2 separate regions of the Homo sapiens genome follow, and region 1 is linked to region 2. Evidence: promoter capture Hi-C in 16 types of primary human blood cells and fetal thymus (Javierre and others, 2016). All regions are on one chromosome and are shown on one strand. The core of a region is centred on a gene start or on the middle of the fragment in contact, and the rest is flanking DNA. Distances in the headings are between cores, read along the strand shown.

Evidence for each region. The method cuts DNA at HindIII sites, captures the fragments that hold promoters and counts their contacts. A CHiCAGO score of 5 or more calls a contact.
Region 1: a contact is called between the fragment with the promoter of LCE1A here and the fragment with the promoter of LCE2C in region 2, in 7 of 17 cell types (neutrophils, naive CD8 T cells, total CD4 T cells and 4 more). The highest score is 11.7, in neutrophils.

The regions. Positions count from the first base shown.
Region 1 is chr1:152,821,989-152,829,612 of GRCh38, forward strand. It overlaps LCE1A (late cornified envelope 1A), which reads left to right and starts at 5,485. Exons shown (of 1, transcript NM_178348.2): 1 at 5,485-6,109. The coding sequence starts at 5,485. The coding sequence ends at 5,817. The HindIII fragment of the contact is 5,440 bases long and covers 754-6,193 here.
Region 2 is chr1:152,670,318-152,678,172 of GRCh38, forward strand. It overlaps LCE2C (late cornified envelope 2C), which reads left to right and starts at 4,962. Exons shown (of 2, transcript NM_178429.5): 1 at 4,962-5,011; 2 at 5,678-6,252. The coding sequence starts at 5,699. The coding sequence ends at 6,031. The HindIII fragment of the contact is 8,836 bases long and covers 3,101-7,855 here.

The DNA of each region.
Region 1 (7,624 bases), core at 4,235-6,734, 150 kb after region 2:
CTCATATTGAGAAATAAATAATCATAAATATGATTGAAACCATCCCCTTATATATCCCTTCTACCTAGAGATATTCATTATTCTGTATTTTGTGTTTTTCCTTCCTGTGCAATGCATATACTTTCCTGTGCTTATCTATCCTTAACTTATAATTTATTTATAAGTTAAAAATGTAACAATTCCTCTGTACTTAACTATACTTTATTTGTACTTAGCTATATTTTATTTATAACTTATTTCTATATTAGTTATAATTTGTATTTTTAATTTTCTAAAAGTGATCTACTCCATGACTTTGAGACATTTATCTATGTTGATACAGATGACTCAATTTCATTTTCATTTATTCTCACTATTGTATAGCATTCCAGTGTAAGAATATTCATACTTTACTTATGCATTCATCTGAAATTGGGTACTTACCTTGTTTTCACTTTGTACTTTATAAAAAGTGCTACTTTTTAACATTCTTACACATACTTTGGAACCTTTGCATCCAAGGCATACACTTATGAGAAGAATCAGCATGTTATTCAGTATATCTGCCTTCATCCTGACTAAATATTGCCAAATTACTCTTCAAAAGTTGTACTAATGTACATTCCCATCAGAGTACATGAAAATTTCTGTTATTCAACATCAATGAGAAGAATAAATAGTGAGAATTTTTCACTCTTACCAAGGTGATAGATGTGAAATTATATACCATCATGGTTTTTTCTTGCTTTTCTCTGATTCCTAGCAAGGTTGAAAAGCTTTTTCAAAAACATATTGGTTATTGGTTATTCAGGTTTTCACTTCTGGAAATCAATTTTCATGTGTTTTTCTCATTTTTCCTTTGGGTCATTGCTTTCTTCTCACTGATTTGTAGGGTTATTTATTTAGATACTAATTTGTTGTCAATTATATGTGTTGCAAATATCTTTTCATAATCTGTATTTTCATCTTTTGTGATGTTTTCTGGTTAAAGAAAATTTAATATAACCAAACTCAAGGGTTTTTGTTTGTTTGTAATGTGTTTGTCTCTGATGTGAACACATGTATATTATTTAGGAAATCTTTTCCATCAAAAGTCCATAAGGTTATTCTATTAAATCATTTTTGAAAATTTTAAATATATTTCTAAAGTTTTGTTTACTACATTAGATCTTTGATTTATGGAATTTATTTTAATTATATGGTGTGAAGTAGAGGCATTTATTTATTGCCCAAATGAATAAACAGTTGGTATGGTATCATTTACTGAACTGATTACTCCTAACCCACTTTTCTGTAATCCTGCCTCTGACACATTTCAGGGGTTCATACATGAATGAATGACTTTTAGTTCTTATAACCTGTCACATTGTTCCTTAATCAATAAATCACAGTCTGAACGACAATTGCTTTATAATTATTCTTGGTGTTTTGTGAGATAAGTTCCCATGTATTCTTCTTCATGGTTATCCTGTCTATTCTGGGCCTCTTGCTGTTTGATTTGAGTCGTAGAATCAGCTCATTAAGTTCTGTTGAACTCTCTCTTGTGGTTTTCATTAGAATTACATGGAATCCACAGGTTGACTTGCAGAAAATTGACGTTTTTAAGACAATGTTTCTTTCTATTATGGTCTACTTTAATGCGTTTCAATAAAATGTTGTAATTTTTCCATTTATTCGTCTTTTAGAGATATTTATTCTTAGATGTCTCATATTTTTGTTACTGATATCTATGGTTTTATTTTTAAATAACAATTTCTGATTATTGGTGTATATGTGTTCTATAACATAACAGCTTCAGTCAAGAAATAGCTTTTTATGCCTAAATGTAGAACCACAAAATAATTTTAATTATTGTCACATGTGCCTTTATATGCCTCTTTCACAATTTAATACCCTAAGTATTAAAATAAGTACTTAGTAGTAAGCGTTTCCAATTTACCTTATTACAATACCATAGTTAACACTTTTGAGTATTTAGATTTTCACATTTTTATAACAATCTCCATAAAACGAAAGCCTGAAAATTGGAATCTCTAGGTCAAAATATATGTACATTCTACATTTTTAATTATTTGAACTCACCAGTAAATAATATCTGAATGAATCAATAACCAGTTTGCCTTTCAGAAAGGTATTCCATCCACAGTAACTTTTCCCTCCCATATCCACCCTTCGTTTGTAAAATTTTTAAATCTTTGCCTATTTAATATGAATGCATAAATTCCATAGAGAAAAATAAAAGACAATTATTTTTATACATGTATTTTTCACTATAAATCTAACATTTTGCGTTGCCTGCTTATCTCTTTTGTCCATTATTTTCATGGAATTTTTTTCTTATTACTTTGTAAAGTATATTTGCATGTCAACAGTGTTAATCTTATTCCTGAGATATGTGATGTAATTTCCTCTCAATTGGTCACTTCTCTTTCAGGAGTGTTTACATGTTGCTCTTTTCCACATGAAGTTTTTATTCAGAAATAAATAAACATCACGTTTTCCTTTTGTAACATGGTTTTGGGAGCCACCAGGCATAAGAAATAATGAACTATCCTTTTCTACTTTAAGAGTGTTATTTAATAATGTATGTTATAAAAAAGGATCTAATGGGTGAAAAAAATAACCCATTAACATACTAGGTGCTGATTCCAAAGCATAAAGTACGATACCACTCAGTATGAAGTTCGAGTGATTCTTTAAAAATTGAACATTTCCAAAAATGTGTTAATTAATAACCAGTTTACAGATGGACATAGAAACAATTAGAAAAAAAGTATTGCAGTCATTCCTATAAATTTACAATGTGGGACATAATGCTTTACTTTTGATTTGCCTCATAGCTGCATTCTAGATCTCAGCCATGTCAGCTTCCAAGCCTTGATAACAGAAGATCTAAAAAGCCAGTCACTTGCTTAATAAAAATTTTATGAAATTTAAGTCACTGACATCATACAATTAAGGCAAGCAGACCAACCTTTATGAGGTTTCAAACCTGCTGCCAACTTACCATCCAGATCTAAATCAGACTGATTGACATATTGAGTACCACATCACTAGAGGCATGGATCATGTGATCCCTCAGGCCAAGTATCCTAAGAATCAGTGAGTCTGCTTCTGAGTAAGACTTACCTATGAGCCAAGGTATTGATATCCTGACCACTCCCTTATAACAAAGCCTTTTGTAACAACCTGAGCAGGAAAAGAAGAGTCACACTCAGGCAACATAGGTACAGATCTCTGCAGGATGACATATCCTCAGCATGTATGTCTGCATGCTCCAGGTTCTTATGCTGATAGCCTAAGTCATGTGGAATAACTATTCATAAACTCTATAGTGCTATGCAAATGCTGGCTTCATGCCTGACCAAAAAATAAATGTGTGTGTATATACATATATATGTACATACATATATGTGTATATACATATATATGTACATACATATATGTGTATGTCCCAGCTACTTGGGAGGCTGAGGCAGAAGAATGGCGTGGACCTGGGAGGCAGAGCTCGCAGTGAGCCGAGATCATGCCACTGCACTCCAGCCAGGGCAACAGAGCGAGACTCTGTCTCAAAAAAAAAAAAAAAGAAAGAAAAAAAAAAAGAAACATGCACACAGGCACACACACACAGGCACCCACACACGTAAACAACTCCCAGTGGCTAAGTGGTGGGACACATGTGAAAAAGCTAAGAGGCTTCTGTGTTTCTTTGTTCAAACCTGGATGCCTGGAGCTCATAAATTCACATTGCTAGAGGAAGAAGGAGAACATTTGGGGGACCACATTTCAAGAGCGAGAACTGAGAGGTAGGCACCTCTAAGAGAATAAGGTACCAGGTGGTGGTAGGAATTCACTCCCACCCCATTTCTAAGTCATATTCCACACTAGGAACAGCTCCCCTGAGCCCCGTGGAGAAAGGCAGATGTGGAGCTGCCAGTCACTCCTTGTCACAGGACCCATGTGGGTGTCAGGAGACAGATCCTTTCATTCCCAGGCCCTGTCTCACAGCTGGAGGCAGAGCCCAGGCCAGGATAAAAGGGCTCGTGGCCAGAGCACCCCATCCATTCACCTCCTGAGGTGCTGAAGGACCCTGTGCTGCCTGTGACCTCGGTAAGCGTCCACTGGGAAAAGGAGCAGGGGTTCCACAGAGGGATGCCCAGACCAGGGCAGGAGGGAAGGCTGGGCAGGGCTTTGTTGGGGAGGGGTAGCTGGATTAGAAGAGGTGGAGAATGTCTAGAAATTCTGATGGAGTTCAAGCTGTGGGGCAGGAGAGATGGGAAGCACCTGGATGATTTGTATGTCTATGCTTCATGCTCTAATCCAAATTAGTTCTGTATTTTTTTTAGTGTCTCCCATTCCAGATAAGTTAAAACAAACTTTCCTTTCAGAGAGTAGATCTTAGCAACTCAACTGTGTCTCTTCCCCGAAGCCTGTACTGGGATTATAGTGGTTCTTAAATAATGGAGACCGGAGACCAGAGGAAGCATATTTGGAGCTTGATAAACACAGAGATACATGGCCCTTACACCTTCATCAGGAGTGAGTTAGTCATGAGTGGTGCCTGGGCATCTGTATATCAGAAGCTCCAGTGTTGAACAGCAAGTAACAAGTTGAAATTTATGGTTGCCAGGGTGGCAGATAGAGGAGTCTGTGGGTTCTAAGAGGGAGCTTCACTAGGCATGGATTCACCAGACCGGGAAATCTAGGGTCACGTGTCAGCTTGCTACAATTAGCTTTAGACCTCATTTCTCCATTTATAATATGATTTGGGATAGCCAGCTCATATGATGACCCTTTGCAATTCTGACTATAATATATTGTGTGTTTGTGTCAACCAAATACAGCCATCTGGGAAGCTCCTACAAAAGGGAATCTTTATTTTTATTTTATTATTTTATTTCATTTATTTTTGAGACAAAGTGTCATTCTATTGCCCAGACTGCAGTGCAGTGGCATGACCTTGGCTCCCTGCAGCATTGGCCTCCTGGGCTCAAACGATCCTCCAGCCTCAGCCTCCTAAGTAGTTGGGACTACAGGTGCGTGCCACCATACCCAGCTAATTTTTTTTTAGAGATAGGGTCTTCTTGCTTATTTTTTAAAAAGCAGAACTGCAGGTTTAAACTGGCTCCTAGATTGGACATTTTCAGAATTCTAAGTGGTGCAGAAGGGTAGACTTCAGTCAGATTCTGTGAATGTCAGATTGCCTTTTCCACTTAAAGGACATTAATTTTGGGCAAGTTTGTTAATACAGATGTCCTCATTATATTGCTGGGTTAAAATAAGATAGTCTATTTCTATTTTATAAAAACATCCTGATGATCCTATAACACATTGTGAAAGCATCTGACAAACAATTTTAGAGATAATTTCTCTCTGACTTATTTGAACAGGTTTTAAAAATGTAGCAAAAATAAATGATGGTAAAAAGGCAATAAGGGTGGCCTCTGTGCCTGGCTGTAACTTGCTGTTTGACTCTCCTTCAGCTCCTGAACACCCACCGCCGAGATGTCCTGCCAGCAGAGCCAGCAGCAGTGCCAGCCCCCTCCCAAGTGCACCCCCAAGTGCCCTCCCAAGTGCCCCACTCCTAAGTGCCCCCCAAAGTGTCCCCCTAAGTGCCCTCCAGTCTCTTCCTGCTGCAGTGTCAGCTCCGGAGGCTGCTGTGGCTCCAGCTCTGGGGGCGGCTGCAGCTCTGGGGGAGGTGGCTGCTGCCTGAGCCACCACAGGCGCCACAGGTCCCACCGTCACAGACTCCAGAGCTCTGGCTGCTGCAGCCAGCCCTCGGGAGGCTCCAGCTGCTGTGGAGGGGACAGCGGCCAGCACTCTGGAGGCTGCTGCTGAAGCGGACTCTGCACCTAGAAGAGCAGACTCGGGTGAAATGAGTGATCAAACATTTCCTCCTCACCTGTCTCCTCCTGGGCCTGCAAGAGTGGCTGAGATGCCCGCGTGAAGGCTCTGAGCTCTGGCCTAGAGGATCCCTCTGCCCTGGGATCCAGAAACTTGATTCTTCTCCCACAAACCTATCTGCTGCCCCTGACACCAACTGTGTTGTCTACTCTGGGATCCCAAGCCACAAACTCACTCTCCAGCTCATTTCCTGCAGCCTCAAGTGAAACAATAAAGCAAAAGATCTTCTTGCCACTTATTGTGGACTGTTCCTTGCCTGTTTGTGTCTCCAATATTTTTTTCACTGCTCTCTACTTTCCTGCTGCCTGGAAGCTTTGGAAATCAAGATGTGCTAGTCGCATGGCTAAAGATATGGAGGAGGGGAGAGAAAAACTTCTATGGCTCCTACTTTGACACCTTATGTCAGAGGAATCACTACGTGGCTCTGCCTGTGCCCATCTTCCTGGTGTTTCAGGAACACAGAGCCTTGTGCTTTGGACTTCTTCAGGGTCCTACTTGGTCTCCAGGGTGTGGCAGGGAGACAGATATGCACCCCATCCTTTCATCCATCTACCCCTCCTCCCCTTTACAATACTGCCCACTCACTCCCAAATTTCATTCTCTTTCAGTAAAAAATATTAGAAAATTATATGTAAACTTCCTGCAAACAGACCATGAATCTTAGACTATTCTAACTACAAGTATGCATAGAACATGTGGTAAATATGATCTGAAAAAACTTAAAAATCCGTAGAAAAGGAATCAGTATGTTAAAAATCAATGTCTTTCTTTTCTCTCCCAGAGTCCCAAGTCCAATCTTTCCAGTCAAATATTTCGTCTCTATATTTTGTGAAGAAGTCCTGATTTTTCATCAATATTTTTTCAATTACAAATTTTACATGAGATTGAATAATTGTTAATTTAATGTTGTGTGTATTATGCCTCAATAATTTTACTATGAACTGGATAAGTGGGCAATACCCTGCACTTATTTTTTAATCCATGAAAACCCCCTGGTGTCTGGCAGATCAGACAGCAAGAACATGTAGGAATAATGTGATGTCCACCTCACAAATGCTCTGATTAATACAACCTCTAGATGTCCCTGTGTCTTTGGTCAGTCACCCAAGGGACATCCAGTACACTGATTCTCAGCCATATACCTGCTTCTTGACTATTCCAGGAGACTAGATGAGGGATATATTCCTTTTGGCTTCAGTAACAAGAAGGAGCTCAAGCACTGCACATATTGGGTGACCCCTCCAAATAATTCAACTAGCATATTAATAAGTATGGAGCTGACTGGTGGCCAAAGTGACAGATGATACCATTCCCCAGAAAGGAAATAATGTTCCAGCTGGGATCAGACACACGCTAAGGTCCAGGTTTCTCTCTCCCCAACTTGGACTGCGTGCTCCCTAAGGGCAGCTGCTATATAGCCATCTCAGACCAGAGTTCCATGAAAGCCAAGACTGTGTTTTCCCATAAGGTCATAAAGATTTTCTTGTATATTTTCTTCTACAACTTTTATTGTTTTAGGCCCTCAGTTCGGTTTTTGATCCATTTTGAGTTAAATGTTTTTAATGTTATAAGATAAGGGTCAATTTTATTATTTTGCTTGTGGTTTTCCAGTAGCCATAGCATTATTTGTTGAAAGACTATTGTTTCCTCAGTGAAACAGTCAAATTTTTGGCACCCTTGTCAAAAAATCGTTAACCATCAATTTATGGTTTATTTTTGACACTCAATTCTCTTCCACTGT
Region 2 (7,855 bases), core at 3,712-6,211:
CTAGGCAAAATTAACCATCACAGAGACTGAGAGGATACATGGAGGTCATTAGAGATATGATCCAACAGACAGAAGAGGTCTTCTGTTGACAGAAGAGGGTCAGCAGTGACCAGGACACACTAAGAACATGCCATGATGGTTTTATTTTCACTTAGGATAAAGGCAAATTTCTGGACAGACCTTTGGAGAATATTGGGAAAACAGAACCTTCTACCTGGTAACCCCATGAGTCTCAACAAGGCTGTGATGTTAGGAGGACTGGAGGGAGGGAGTGCAGCATGTGGCTGGGGAGGCCCTTGGCCTTTGCACTTTGGTTCCACAGAGGTGTAGTCAGTACAGCACAGACAAGGCTGCTGACCACTGCACGGTAGCTGGAACTCTGGGAGCTGATGAAGCTGTAGCTGCTTCCCATGCGGGGTCAGTCACACAAGAAGAACTGGAGGTGAACATGGGCTGTGCACTGGAGTGGCACTGTGAAGGGCTCTTTAAAGGCATTGGCATTACTGGTGGTGTTTTGGCAAGGTATCTGAGTTTGAAAATGAATCGAGCAATAAGTCAGATAAATTAGAGCCAATATGGGCATAATTTTGCCCTTTTAAACCTATTCATGGTGTGCTGGCAGACAGTTTATAAAATACATTAGTATCTAATAGTACCTATGAAGAACCATATAACCCCAAGTTAAAAGTGTTAGAAGTGACATTTCTGAAAACAGAACTAATGCTAAATCAATGTCAATTTCTGTCTCTCATCATTTCATTTCATATCTACAGACCCATTTACTACCTACTATATTTCATGAGCGTAAAGAGGCTATCAGTTGTAAGGGGCACCCTTATTTCATGCACCACAAGGAAATAAAAATTTTGCAAATTCAACTATTACATGCCACCATTCATATGGTATACACTGATTTAAGGGCTGTTAAAAAATGTAAGAAGAGTGTATCATGGAATTGATGAATTAAGTATAAAATCCATCCTCTTCAGGTCATATAAACATGTATGTACAAACTAGACAGGCCAATTCTTGCTTTGCCCAGGACACCCCTCTGCTGTGCTCCTCCCTATCACTGGGCCGTCTTCTCCTTTCATATTCCATACTCCCGGTGTTGCTCTTAAGACTCCCATATGGTTCTGCTGAGAGCCAGTTTGATGGCTCCCCCTGGCAAACTCACCCTGGTAACCAGGCAAGGAAAATGGCATGTCCCAGATGAGGCAAAACAGATGCGGGGCAGTGTTGGGACATCTCTTATAAGCTATGCTAATACCAAGATCTGAAGTGAGTCCCAGCTCTAGCAGGACCACGACACGTGAATTCTCCAGCAGCTCTCTGCCTGGAATTCATGCCCCTCTGATGTCCATCAGCCAATATGACTTCAGCAAGAACCCATTCTGGACCTGGGTTTTGAAGCCCCAGTTTCTGAGAAACCATCTCTTGTTAGGAAATTGGGGGTTAAACTTATCCAAAACTTAAAATTAAGCAAAAAAGTGATTTCTGATTAGTCTTTTAAATTTTTACTTCTTCCTAGTAACTAACAACCTTGCCTAAGGTGTATATGACTCTCTAGGTTTTTAAAAAAAATGGTGGCATGATTTTACTTAATGTATTTGGTATTGATCAAGGCCCAGACACTGTAAAGCTAGATTTAAATTATAGAAGATTTGTAAGTTGAAAATTATTTTGTGTGCTCTAGAAAATTTAACCTAATGGTTTCATTGCCTTTGAAAACTTTAACCAGTTTTGTATCTAAATTTGCAATCTTGTTCCAGAATTTTTTTGGTCTCTCCTATTCTTTGAACCAGCATTACCATCATGCTGATTCTCTTATTAACAAGTGAAACAAATCTTTATAATATGCCTGCTATATATTTATATGAGTCATGCTTTTAACTTTTTGGAAATTACAATTCAATAAACCCTTATCTCCACACATACCCTTTCAGGAGTGGAAACTGGGCCAAAATCAGACAGTGCCAGACAGTGTTGACAAGAAGATGAAAAGGACTACAAAGATATAGTAAACGGAAAATTTGGATTAGTGAATCTACTAAATAAGATGAGATACATCAAGGGACATGGTAAGGCTTTTTCTTGTACTGTGGCTAAAATAAAGTTCCAGCATTTGGTGGGGGATAATTTTCTGGAATATACGGAGTTTAAGTTCCCAGGGAGACAATTCAAGGAGCTACTTGGAAATATCAGCTTTCAGGAGACTGACTTTCCAGATGAGGTGAACTTCAGATGAAATGTCTGGAATCAATCCCAGGCCATTCTTTTCATGTCACCTGTGTACTTGTTCATGTGGTCCTGCAATCATGCATTGATTCTGCCAACACTCATGAGACAATTAAGTGTTTGGCTGGTCCCTGAGGGAACATGCACAATGTGACATGGGGTCTTCTGGCTCAGAGGGATCACCTATGATGATGTGAGGGCTGTGGAGACAGAAGCAAGAATACTTGCAGGCAGGTGTTTCTTCACTGACTTGTGAACTAATTATCAACATTTTCTGAGATATAAAGGGACAAAGGGGACATGTTAAACAGCTGCTTATCTCCCAGTTCTGGTTTCCCAGGGGATCGGGTCCCATTAATTCTTCCATCGCTTATTCAACCACTCAATACAGACGCTCATGTATGTGCATGTTCATTTTACCTGAATTTTTGTATAAATACAACATACACACATACAGAGCACACACCCACATACACACACACACAGACACAGACTTGCCTCCCCTACTTCCTCACTTACCACATTGTTACAAATATCTTTGTCAAAGAGTATGAGGAAGCTGAGGGTGATATCACCATGAAGACAGTGGAATGAACTAACATGTTCTAATCACACTGGGAAATAGTGACTCAGGAGGTTCAGGCCCCAAACGTCATCTTCTTTGGACCTATGTTTGTCTGCAGTCATCTTCAAAAAGGCTACAAAAATTCTACAGTCCTTGAGGTCATGGGCTACTTATTATTCACCTCTATATCCCTATATTTGGACATACATGATTCAAGAACGTTGTAGGCTTTCAAAGAATGCCTTTTGAATTCACTGCTCTGACCACACTGTTGACTTACTTTATCCTTCAGGTAAAAGCTTCCTGAGAGCAGGAATCAGATCTGATAATAGGATTGCATAACTAGGAGAACAGAATCCCTCAGTTAGAAGCTGACAATGGGAAACTATGCTTTCTCCGCATCCTCCCCTCCCCCACTAAGTAGGCATTAGGCAATGTGAAGGCACAGTCTGTTTCTGTTTTAATCAGAGGTGTGAATATCTATTTTTTTCAATTCTAATTTTTAACACCTTTATTGAGATGTAATTAACATATTTGTAGTTCATTTGTTTAAAGTGTAAATTCAATGGTTTTCAGTATATTCACAGAGTTGGACAATCACCACCATAATTTTAGAACATTTTCATTACTTCACAAAGAAAACCTGTATCCATTGGCAGTAACTTCTCAATATCTCCCAGCCCGCTAAAGCACCTGGAAGCCACTGATATTTCTCAGAGGACAGGCATAAACATAAAAGGAGATACAGGGAACAGAATCTCATCCAGGCTCTTGTTCCTCGGATGCCCTGAGTCAGCTCTTCAGGGGTCCAGCCTGGGAGAGGCTGTAACTGGCTAAAGCCTCATCCCCTTTCTATTTCCAGAGATTTGCCTACTCTACACATTTCATATAAATAACATCATACAATATGCAGTCTTTTGTGACTGGCTTCTTTCACGTAGTGTAATGTTTTCAAGGTTCACACTCAATGTATCTGTTTAAACTAAATGAATAAATGACTGGGTAACTCTGTCTAGTGCAACCCTGAATCAGAACTCTGAATAACTAGATTCCTGGCTGACCCTCTACTTCCTGGTAGGAAAGGAGTTCCCTCTGCATAGGAGCCCCAAGAAATGATGTCTACTTCCCAAGACAGGTTTCAAATAATCTAAGTGTCTGGTGGAGTTAAGCTCTCTGAGGGTAAGGGCTCTATATGGGCAATTAATGACACATAAGACCGGGGCAAGTATCCAATACATGGCATTAGTTTTTCTATTAAACATATATTTATTAAGGGTCTATCAGGCACAAAATGTCATACTTAGCTCTTTCTTGCTTCTCACTTTATATTACAAACAGCTCAGTGAGATAGGTATATCTCACTGATAGGTTTATAATGGGCATTATATGTGAGAACTGATACTCACAGTGAGTATCATAGTAATACTCTAGCAATTATTGATAATTGTTACAGCAACTTTCAGAGATTACCCAGTTATCATATGCAAGTTTTCTGATTCCAGTAGCACATTCAATACAAGTCCTCTGACTGAAGGAAATGTTTAGATTTTAGAGGGAATTGTTTATTCTCAATCATTCTCCTTGCTTTAGGTGACAGAATCAACTCAGATTTAATCCACCGAATCTGCTTGCCATGGTGAGTCGGAGGAAAAGCAGAAACACAGAGGCCAGGAGGAAGGGCTGAGAGCCTAGGCAAGGGAGGGATGCCTAGAAAAAGCCAAGGCTGTAGAAGCCCTCTGGGATGGCTGGATCCACAGCAGGACATGGAAGAGAAACTGCTCAGGGTGGAGGGAGTCATAATGGAACATTTCCACAAGGTCAGGGAAAGCTGTGGCTCAGAACTGATGTTTCCTCAGAGGACATGCATTAAAAAAATGCAGGGAACAGAATCTTGTCCAGGTGTGGGTCCCTTGGGTACCCTAAGTTAACTCTTTAGGGTTCCCACCTGGTGGAGGCTCTGACTGGCTACAGCCTCTCTAGACTGCAGCCCCAGAGAGGAGTCCTGGAAGCTCCTGAGGCCTCTTTGGATTGCAGGGACTAAGAGGCAGGAGAATGTCAGGAATGACCCAGCGTGTGCCTGGTTGTGCAAGAGCCACCTCCTGCTCTTTCCAGAGCCAAGCCTGGGCCCTATAAAAGACACATCCAGCTTCAGCATCTCATCTGCTCTGACTCCCCAGGGACGTGTCTGTGCTCCTGCGTGTGACCAGGGTGAGTGGCAACCTGGGATACCAGAGGGGTATGAGCAAGGCAGAGGGATGGGGAGGATGGAGGTAGGCTGGAGAAAGAGTTGTGTGCTTGTGTTCTGCCATACTGAGCAGGAATGGGACTCAGCCTGCCTCGAATCTGTTGAGGCTCTGAGGCCTACCGGAGCTCATATAGGTGGGGAAAGCTAACTGTGCACATCTTTTCCAATTCTGTGTTCAGTGACTTCATGTTGGTAACTTCAAAACTGCTGTGTTGGGCATATTTACACCATGGAAACTGGCAAATACTTCAAGCCAGGCTCTTTTATCTGGAGGTTTCATTGCAAAATATTTTCCAGAGGACCCCTTGGTATGTCCTGCAACACCCAGCTTGTCCTTAGGGCTTGTATTAAAGGAATAGGTACTTCAGGGAGCTGTGAATACTCTATTCGGGCTTGTGAGGATAGAGCAATCGCAGTTTCCCCTGAAAGGAAGAGTAAGAAGCTCATTCTGTTGATTTTTTATCTACGTACTTTTATCTAGAGGAAAGATTCAAGTTGTTTCTTTCAGGTTACTGATGTGATTGTATTATCTAAATATCATTCTTCTTCTACACATGCATTGATTTTAGAAGAGGTATAATATGATCCTTGGTTTGAAATATTTAAAGAGTTTCATTATTATCTTTCAGGTTGACTAAACTCCTGCCAGCATGTCTTGCCAGCAAAACCAGCAGCAGTGCCAGCCCCCTCCCAAGTGTCCTCCCAAGTGTACCCCAAAATGTCCACCTAAGTGTCCCCCCAAATGCCCACCACAGTGCCCAGCTCCATGTTTCCCTGCAGTCTCTTCTTGCTGTGGTCCCAGCTCTGGGAGCTGCTGTGGTCCCAGCTCTGGGGGCTGCTGCAGCTCTGGGGCTGGTGGCTGCTCCCTGAGCCACCACAGGCCCCGTCTCTTCCACCGGCGCCGGCACCAGAGCCCCGACTGCTGTGAGAGTGAACCTTCTGGGGGCTCTGGCTGCTGCCACAGCTCTGGGGGCTGCTGCTGACCTGGGCTACAGAAGAGCTCTTGGGACTGAATGGCCAAGAACCTGCTACGGCCTGATGGATACTCTTTCCACTTCCTCTCATTCCATTCATTGGTTGGCAGAGACCACAAAGACTCATGGGGCTTTCCTGGAAGAACTTCGTGCTTGATGTAACACCCCAATTGCAAGTCTTCTTTTCCTCCTTTACCTCATGTTATAATAAAGCTCTGATCTCTGACTCACTAAATGTCTTGGTCATTCTCTTCTCTTCTGAGATTTCAAATGTCCTCCAAAGGTCAGGGCCTCAGAGTAATTTTCTTCATGAGGCTAGGACAGGACATGAGTAGGTGATACATGAAAAGCTGCTCTGAGGAACTGATTCCCCCAGATGCTGAGTGAATGGAGCTCCAAGAGGGTCACCTCTGGCTATGGTAGCTTTGCCTTTCTCTCCACTAAGCCAGACACATGTTCTAATTTTCTGTGTAATCCAGACGTTGGGAAGGTTGGGAAGCTCTGCAGACTTGTTCTTCTCTAGGGAGAAGAACACATCCCTATGAAGCAAAACTTTCCTGCCCTTAGAATCAATAGTTGGATAAAATGCTTGAAACAGATGTTGAGACCCTTCCTCCTGTAAAGTACAGCCCATGGTCACTCAGCTTCTTTTCATGAGTCTGGTTAAGATCAGCCTTTTGACTTGCTGCCTTGGACACCTGGCTTCAGTTCCTCACAGTGTTAGATCTGAGTCCCAGGATGCTGTCCTGCCACTTGGCTCACGTGCTGGGCAGGGGAGTGATGAGTGATGGAGATATTAAGTGAAAAAACATGGAAGTGTTGCTTAGAAGATACAAAGAATATAAGGAACATAAGAATACAAAGAATACAAAACGCTGTATGAAAGAATAGACCTTTCCTCCTTCAATACTTATCTTTTTTGCCAAGCCACCCTCAGAATGTGAGGGGGGAGAAGCGCCAGGATGGGTGGGGCATCTTAAGTATTACTAGAGGAAGGGGAGGGAAGCAGGGACACAGCAGGGGAAACAAGGGCTAGTGCTTCTTAGGTTCAGGCTGACAGGTGTCGACATGAAGATAATGGATTCAGCAAAGACGGATTTTGACAGAGATGGAGCCTCTTATTAATATGTTTACCTTCTTACTTACCCTTAGTGCCACTAAGACAAAAACCCAGCTGATTAACCAGTTTGAGATTCTGTACTGTCTGCATTTTAAATCACCCTCTGCACTGAGTCAGTTTATTTGACTCAATGCTCTTTATTATTTTGCCAGTCTCATTATTAACTAATTTTCAAGTCCCTGACCAGTAGTAATTTTGAGCTTCCATAAATATGTACATTGGCTATTTCTACAAAATTTGTAATAGGATTTTAAATTTTCTTTTCAATTTTCAAGAGCTCTTGATATATCATGGATATTAACCTTGATCTGTCTTTATTAAAATATTTAATACATCATAATTAATTGACTCTGTTTATAATAACTTTTGCTATGGAAATATTTGTAGTTTTTAAATACTCAAATATGACTTTCTTTGCTTTCATAGCTTCAGGGTTTCCTGAGTTGGTTAAGAAGTTTTTCCTTGTCCTTAGTGTTTACATGTCAGCAAACAAAACAAATAAAAAAACCCAAACAGTATAAAATGGAACACCAAGCGGGGGACCTAAGGTTGCCTGGGGCAGGTGAAGGCTGGCCTGCGGAGGGGTGGACACCCGAGTATGCTTTCAGGGACCTCTGCCTTAAGTAAGAGCAACTCACCGGCCCTTTCCTTCTCCAGTGGGCCTGCTATCTGGGGCTCCATGTGCTCCTTTCATGGTGAACATAATCCTTTCC